Linked DNA regions of Homo sapiens: region 2 is linked to region 1. The links are contacts of gene promoters, found by promoter capture Hi-C in human tissues and cell types (Jung and others, 2019). All regions are on one chromosome and are shown on one strand. The core of a region is centred on a gene start or on the middle of the fragment in contact, and the rest is flanking DNA. Distances in the headings are between cores, read along the strand shown. Region 1 holds the start of DSC2 (desmocollin 2). Region 2 holds the start of DSG4 (desmoglein 4).

The links. Contacts are between HindIII fragments. The study calls those that stand out against the background at their distance.
Region 2: a contact is called between the fragment with the promoter of DSG4 here and the fragment with the promoter of DSC2 in region 1, in 1 of the 25 tissues and cell types used here (heart left ventricle).

What each region holds. Positions count from the first base shown.
Region 1 is chr18:31,101,077-31,105,166 of GRCh38, reverse strand. It overlaps DSC2 (desmocollin 2), which reads left to right and starts at 2,746. Exons shown (of 16, transcript NM_024422.6): 1 at 2,746-3,264. The coding sequence starts at 3,196. It overlaps DSCAS (DSC1/DSC2 antisense RNA), which reads right to left and starts at 3,579. Exons shown (of 4, transcript NR_110785.1): 1 at 3,444-3,579; 2 at 1,973-2,044. The HindIII fragment of the contact is 11,144 bases long and covers 1,141-4,090 here.
Region 2 is chr18:31,375,315-31,379,324 of GRCh38, reverse strand. DSG4 (desmoglein 4) reads right to left here and starts at 2,548. Exons shown (of 16, transcript NM_177986.5): 1 at 2,366-2,548. The coding sequence starts at 2,413. The region is part of intron 1 of DSG1-AS1 (DSG1 antisense RNA 1); the gene reads left to right. The HindIII fragment of the contact is 6,705 bases long and covers 326-4,010 here.

The DNA of each region.
Region 1 (4,090 bases), core at 1,497-3,996:
TTGCATTGTTAACTCATTTATGCCAGACAAGATCTGGGGTTAGTGTTGAAGAGAGGGGGTTGAAGGTGAATGAATTAGCACTAGGGTTCAGCCCTAGACCAGGACAGAGAACTCTCTGAGGAGAGGTACTGGAAGGACAGGAAATAGGGAGCTGTCATGAGGAGGAAGTGAATGGATCAGAGAGATGTGGTCGTACAATGGCGAGGAAGATGGATGTCCACAATAACTGACACTGAGGGAGCACTTAGAATGTGCCAGGCTTTCTTCTGAGTGCCTTGATATCATTTAATTCTTGCAACAGCTCTGAGAGGTTAAAAAATTGTGCTTATTTTACGGTGATTAGCAGATGTTTCCCTTTCTGCTCCAACCTATGAAGCAACTAGACAATGTCCTTTAATCTTGCTTTTTGCCTGTTAGGTTTGTGTTTCCCTTGCTTTTGAATTCCATTCTATGTCATATGCCATGCCGAGATGGTTTCGTCCTGAAGATGACATCTGTCCCTGTGGATCACTCATCCTCTGGTGCTGGCAGGGGAGGAACTGGCAGGATTCACAAAGCTCATGCAGAGCTGTCTCTATTTGCTCATCAGTGAGTAAGTGGGATTTTTTTGGTTGTTGCTGCCCTTAATAGTTTCTGGCCTCTGATATTAGAAAATTGTGAAGCTAGGCTGGATAGATTTGGCCTGTGGGCTTTGGATTGCAAATTGTTCACTTCTTTAAGGATTGCTCTGGCCCTGACTTTCTATGTTATCTCTGAAATGAACATCCATTTCCAGCCAAGCTTCTCAAAAATCTGTCATAAGCAGTCTAAATAGTTTAATTTTAGATGTAGAAAGTACCATAGATAGCCTCCAGTATTACCTTATTATTATTGATTATCTTACTTAACAGATGGACAAATGGGAGTGTTGAGACCTGAGAGATTACTTAAGCAACACAAAAGAAGTTGCTTCTTACTTTCGGTCTGGTGTACTTTTTACTATAAAAAGTATATTTTTATTGGGAAACTAGTTCATGCAGCAGAATCATATTCATAAGCAAAAGTCATTCTTTTAAAAAAAGATCACATCTACTCACATTCCATTTTTTTTTTAAATATATGCCCTTTGTTTCAAACCTATGTTTTAGAGGGATCTATTTCAGTGACCATATAGCCTAACCTAAATACATTAAATAAATTGGGTACTTGCTCAGAGAAAGTACTTTATATTCCATTCTTTTGTTGAAAGTTTTTTTTGGAATAAAACAAACAAATCACCATTTTAATAGCCTCTATCAATTAATGTGAAAGAGGAAAATAAATATCTAAGATGAATTCTAGTCAAATTGCTCTTCCGCCCTTTCCTGGAATGAGGAAAAACATGAGCTGCCCTTAAGGCATCAGAGGGTAAAGAGTAGGCAAGAGTTTGGAAATGTCCTATAGTCAAAGCCTGTGATGATAGTCTGAGTAGATCTCCAGAACCTGAAACGCTTATAGCTTTCTTTTTGTCCTCTGAAAAGCTTCATGCTAGAGACCATGATGTCATCTTTAATAGGATGAGGTGTGCTTATGGTATCATTGATGGAAAACTATGAGTGTTAAAAAATATGGAAACGGAAGGATGTCAATTATAGTCTCATGCTGATGACTCAGGCTTATTTTACTAGCAAAGGGTCAATGATAATTTTATGGATATGGAGACAGAACAGCTCATTAGTGGCATTCGTTAATAAAATAGGGCATGAGCATAGCACAGACACAGAGAATGTAAGGCATGCGCTGTTTGACATTAATTTTTAATTTAAATATACACTCAGTATTGCAGTAATTCTGGCTCGGCATACAATGGTGTTAAGATGGTGAACATTTTCAAGAATCGAAATGGTGTGAGTGTCAGGGTTGGCTTTTCACATAGGATTCTCAGGACATCCCTGAGGAAACTTAAACCAAATAAAAGGGAGCAGACAAGTTTCTCTTTTGTGGTCAGGCTTACCTGGTTTAAGTCAGTAATTGAAAAGAGGTGCAGGAGGATGAGTCAGATGCCTTGTCATTGCTTTCTGAAGAGCTAAAAGAAACAGCATTTATATCTTAATCTTCCAGATTGTGTGCTGCAATAATTCATTTAGTTTAAGTGCACTTCAAATAAAAATGTAAATTATCCCATTCTTATTCATTTCTCACCATGAACTCTGGTTTTGATGGTAGTAAAGAAGGTGAGAACTCTCCACTGGATGTTCAGGAGTCCGGTATAGGAAATAAGTTATAACTCTATTTGTGACCAGGGATGTTCTTGGAGAAAATCAGTAACCACATGTAGCCCACGACTAGGACCTCAATGGATGCATTTCTTATAGTAACTCACCCTCGATTTTATTATTTTGCAGTCGCCTTGATTCCCTAACTTTACGTACGTATGTATGTATATATGTATTTTTGTCTCTAAATTATGGCGATTGTCTTGTATCATTGTCATGCCAGTAAATTCCTAAAAACACAAGACCCCAAAGAATGGTGCCTCAGATGACTATGATGTCTGAACTGCTTGTGGGTGTGTGTAGGAAATTCACTCCAGTAGAGTGTGTAACAGTCTCCCTGGAGTCAACTTTCTGTCAGGTGGGCCTCAGGCAGCTGTGACCTAAAACCCAGCCTCTGCGGCTCAGACCTCGCTCTGTAATTGACCCCAGGGCAGGGACCACGGCCGTCGCCGAGGGCAGCGGGCAGGGCGGAGCCGGGGCCGACCGCGCACTCAGGAGTGAGTCTTTGTGCAGTCAGGGCTTCTGCTGGGCAGGGCCGGCTGTTAATCTCGCCTGGCGGAGCGGACACCGGGGCGTGGTGGGGGAGATGGGCCTTATAGGTGGCGTCCGCTGGTGAGAAACACCTTGCGCAGGTAAAAGGGTGGCGGCGAGAGGGAGTTCCCACCCGTGGCTTTCTTAGAGAAATGAAGTCTTAAGTCTTAAATAGACAACAAGGAGGGGCCGATCGGTGTCTTTTGGACGCGTCTGGAGCCCCTCCCTCCGCCAAAGGAAAAGCCCCTTGGATGAGAGGCAGGCGCTTCAGAGAAGCTAAGAAAAGCACCTCTCCGCGCGCCCCACCTCCTCCGCCTCGCGCTCCTCCTGAGCAGCGGGCCCAGACTGCGCTCCGGCCGCGGCCCTCGCCCCGCGGAGCCCTCCTACCCCGGCCCGACGCTCGGCCCGCGACCTGCCCCGAGCCCTCTCCATGGAGGCAGCCCGCCCCTCCGGCTCCTGGAACGGAGCCCTCTGCCGGCTGCTCCTGCTGACCCTCGCGGTGAGTGTAGCCGCGGCCACCGCTCCGGGGAAGGGGGCGATCGCCTAGGGTGCAGAGGAAAACTAGGGGAACGGGGATAGGTGGGGGTGGCGGGAAAAGCTGGGGTGAAGGGGCCTCTGGGTGGCTAGAAAATGGAGTTGGCGGGGGTGGGGGAGGGCAGATAGGAAGAGGATCGCGACCTGAGAGTTGGGATCCCCAAGGGAAGGGAAGGTGTCTCCGGTAGATGTAATCAGCGCACTCAAGGAGAGGCGGGAGCGGGCCGCTTTCGCCCAGCCAAAATCGTGGCCCCTGGGTACGCGCCGGGGAGCAGGGTGCGCCGGGGCGGGAGTGCGCCGGGGTCGGAGTGCGCCGGGGCGGGAGTGCGCCGGGGCGGGAGTGCGCCGGGGCCGTCCAGCTGGCCTCTGGCACCTTCCCCGGGAACGTGCGGCTCCCTGTGCCTCGGGAACGTGCGGCTCCCTGTGCCTCGGGAACGTGCGGCTCCCTGTGCCTCAGCGCCTGCCCAGGCCACGGAAAGGGGAACCGCTGGGCGGCCGGGACGGAGAGCGAGTGTCCTTGGGTGAAAAAGGGAACTGCTCGCCTTTCTGGGAATTGTTTACTCTGAGAGAAGGGCGGGGGGAAGTGGCGGGTGGGGGAGGGGATCTTGACCCTTTGCTCCTGAGGACTGTCGACCGGCGAGCCCTAGGTGAGCATTTGTACAGTTTCAGTGGTTTCTTAACGTGCGAGGCTTCAGTTCCCTAAATCTTCGGAGGAAGGAAGGGTCTTTCTGATTTCTTGTCCCCAGAGGCGACTCGATTTTTCTGCTCACCACCCGCCCCCCGCGCCACCG
Region 2 (4,010 bases), core at 1,299-3,798, 270 kb before region 1:
GCAACTTAATAACATCATGTCTAACCATACATTCTCACATGAGGTCAAAGGAAGCCCTGAGAAGTTGGGTGCTTTTGCCAAAGTTACACAGCCACTTTGAAGAGGAGCTGTAATTCAAACCCGGGACTTCTGAATCTCGATTCACTGTTGAATGTCCCTCACCACCCCTGTCTGTTTTATAGAAGAACATGATAAGCATCCTTAGGAAGAAAATGCCAAATGACTCGTGATAAAATCAGTGCCCTATTGTAATCTAGAGTTTTGAGTACCTTTTGCTGGTTAGCCAGTCAGAACTTTGTTTACAGTGCTCTTTGCGGTTGAGATGTAGCTGACACAAAGTACCTGTGAGTCTCTGAGAGGCTGCCACACCCTCATTAGTGTAAGCTGCAATGATGCCCCAGAGAGTCTTTGATTTAGTTAATGAAGAAGGGGCAGAGTTCAAGTTCAGGAAATTAAAGAGAAGTAGGCATGTCTACTTTCCTATAATATCTATAACATCTCATTGATTCTCCTTAAACAATTCTTGTATTTGTTTCAATTTTGAAATATGCCAGAAGTCTCTACCTCCCAATTCCAGACACTATTAATTGATATGGTAAGGGATCTTTTAGACAAGCATAAAGAAAAAAAATACTTAAAGAACTTTTTCACAATTACCGTGAAATGTCAAACACAAAGACTTCAATATCAATGAGGAGTAGGAGGAATTAAGTATTAAAAACGCTAGTATTACCAAGGAAAATAAATAAATACTACCAAAAAAAGATCCTGAGAGTCTGAAGTATAATACTCTTTCAAGATCAAGGAGAAGAATCAACTCTTCAATTAAATAATATTATCATAAATCATGCCTGTGCAGAAGGCAATGGGAGGCAAGATTTAGTGCTCAGAAGTGGCCTCTAAAATCTTGACACATACAATTTTCCTTACAGAAAACCAAAAGTTTATCTGAGTCAAAGCATGAATATACTCGGTAGAAGAGTAACAAGAGGTATATCCTCATAACTTACTATTTCAATTGAAGACCAAGTCCGATTCTTGCCTCTTCTTTTAGTAACATTTATTTTATTTAGTAAATAAATAATGATCATTGTAACAGAATATTGCCCTTCGTCTTATGTTTTTAAGTTTAAAAATATTTTTCAAAAATGGTATTGTTTAATAATCTGTCTCCTAAACTCAGAGGATGCAATATTCTACCACTGTTGTCACGTTCCCTTTTGAGCTTGGGGTTGTGTGCCCTTTGGCAGTGTTCGGCTCCCGCACTGCTCTTGAAGTTTAGAAATGTGAATTCCAGAAGAGTAGCTCTCACTGTGCCTCTTGGACAATGACGTGCTCCCATCTCTCCCAGCCCTAGCTACTCTCTGTCTCTTACAACTGATGTTCAGAGGAGTCTGGTATAATTGCCACTTGCCTAAGAATAGGATGGGAATCACTTTCTAAGCTTAGGTTGTAGCGCTAACCTGGATACTCCTGGGAGATTGAAGTGTGGCCAACTATAATGCATTTGTCTTAATTTACTTTGAAAAATTTGTACAGTTCCTAATAATCCTGTCCTCTTACCCTCCCAGAATTGGCAATAGTTTGTTGATTGGCCAACTGGAACTTTGTTCTTCTTTGGAGTTGGAATTATCTCTTTCTAGGGTAGGATATTTGCTATGCATGCTGCCTGTCTGGAAATCATGTCACACCTTGGGCACCCAAAGGTTAGAGGAAAGAAATATAATATCCAAGATGCCATGTTTACTGTAAAGAAATAAGTCATTTAAATATTTCTTTGCTGGTCTGTAGGAATGCATTCATAATTCCAGAAAAGTTTTGTCTTGATGGCTGGGCTTCATTTTTCTTTAGCAATATCTGACTGGAAAAAGTTCTCATGACTTTAGTATGTCATCATTAGTTGCAATGTAATTTCAACATGGCTATCATTCCTCCACTTTGAAAGAAACTCATAGGGAAATAACTATTGAAAAGAAATGGGTTTGATTAACTTCCCTTCAAATTTAGAACCCATTTGCACTGGCAGTTTTCACAGCAATCTATCTGATTTATTTATATGATCATAGAATATGAATTTTATTTCCAATTTAAAATTTTAGAATAGTCCTAACACTCAAAGTGAAGTAGATTATGTCTCTGAGGGCATATAAATTTAATTCAGCCAGATTCTCACCCCGCTTCTCTATGGCATTTTGTTCCTCAAGGCGGAGAGAGTTGTTTGAAATTAACAGAGGCTGGACTTCTAGAACTCTCTTTGCAGGAAGGAGATTAAAAATGGAATAAATCCCATGTAGAAAGCCCGACAGTTGACAGAGACAAGACCTTGAGGCTGCATTTCCTTCCCACCTCTTTAAATTCTACTTACCATTAGAATGATCAAAAGGCAAATGTTTCTGAAGAAGAGCCAATCCATTCCTTTGGGTTTCTCTTGCACGCAAATCCTGTGAGATTCAATTTGAGCCCTCGTCTTCTCAGTTCCGAATTCTGCTCTACAGAAAGATATGCTTTGAGACACCCTTTTAGGAGGGCATGGGTGATAACTGTGGTGATCTCTGGGCAGAGAGATGAAGATATTCTATAATGACTGTTTCCCCACCCCAAACTCCCAGGCTGGTCTGGAAGACTGGCATTGTTTGGGCTCTGGGTAAGAATTTAGACACACCTTGATTCTTATTGCAATGAAACCCTTTGTTGGACACCAAAGAAAAACCTTACAGAGCGAGGACAAGATTTACAGGGAAGATAGCCAGTGAATAATAAATTACTCACAACATAAAAAATAATTAAAATGCTAGGGCCTATCATCATGCTGAATAAAATTAGAAGGCTTCTTCTTACTGCCAACATTGTAAAAGCAAAATTACATATACTGACAACACATACACACACATGTCCACTGCAGAACCCACTTCAAGGAATGATACTTTTAGCAGAGGCCATTGTTGAAAGTCATCAGGACTCAAGTATGGTATAGGAAGAAAGATAGAATAATGACGCTCATTTCAATTCAGTTGAGTCCTGCTTCTCTCTTTAAAATGTCTTGTGGTTGAACCGCACTCTCAATTTTAAAGATTTTCTGAAATAACAAAGTTAAGATGAAGGAACTCTGATTTAACTAGTACCAGTATGTTTGTTTCCATACTTTGGCATTTTCTTTCTTGATTATTCAGTCAAACCTCTACAATATGATATTTACAAAATCATTTTAAAGTAACTACAATACAACATTCTCACTTCTCATAGTATTACCACTGATAAAAAGTACATAATGTGGGTGAGGAACACATTTTACACCACCACAAATATTTATTAAGGAGAAACTGAAGTTGGAAACGTGAGAATTTAATGAAAAAAAGCCCAGAGTGGGATCTGGATATTTTTGAATATTATTTCCCTTTTTCGTGTCTCCCTTTTCCTTTGTTAGTATGGGTTTGAAACAGGGTATAGAGTGTCCTGATGCAAACATTGCAGGCTGGCAGCAACATCAATAAACTTAAAAGAAAATGCAGTTAACTGTTCTCTGATTGATAGATAATACATGTTGGTTGGAGAATTTCAAAGGGAGACTGCCTCCTGTCTTCACTATCCCATCACTGTAATTCAGAAACAAGGTTGACCCTGGTAATAGAATGTATTCTAAGTATTGCTTAGTTTCTTGAGAAAAGTAGTTTTAGTATTTTTGGAAGCCAGATAAAGTAATTTACTTTTGCATTATTTCATGTCATGTTGAATTAGATAATTTAATTTGCCTAAGAGAATTAATGAAACAACTCCAGGTCTTTAAGTGACATTGCTTTTTACAAGGGAAAAACAACATTCTTCTCTATTGTTGTGTTTGAAGGAGATATTTCACAAAGGTCTCTATCTTTTGTTTACACTATAGATGATTTCTTCTACATATAAGATTTTTCTTATATTTTCTTCTAAATATAAGATTTTCTATCTACTTGAATGCTATTTATAGGATGAGTTTTAAAGAAAAGAAACAGGAAGCAATAGAAATAGGTACT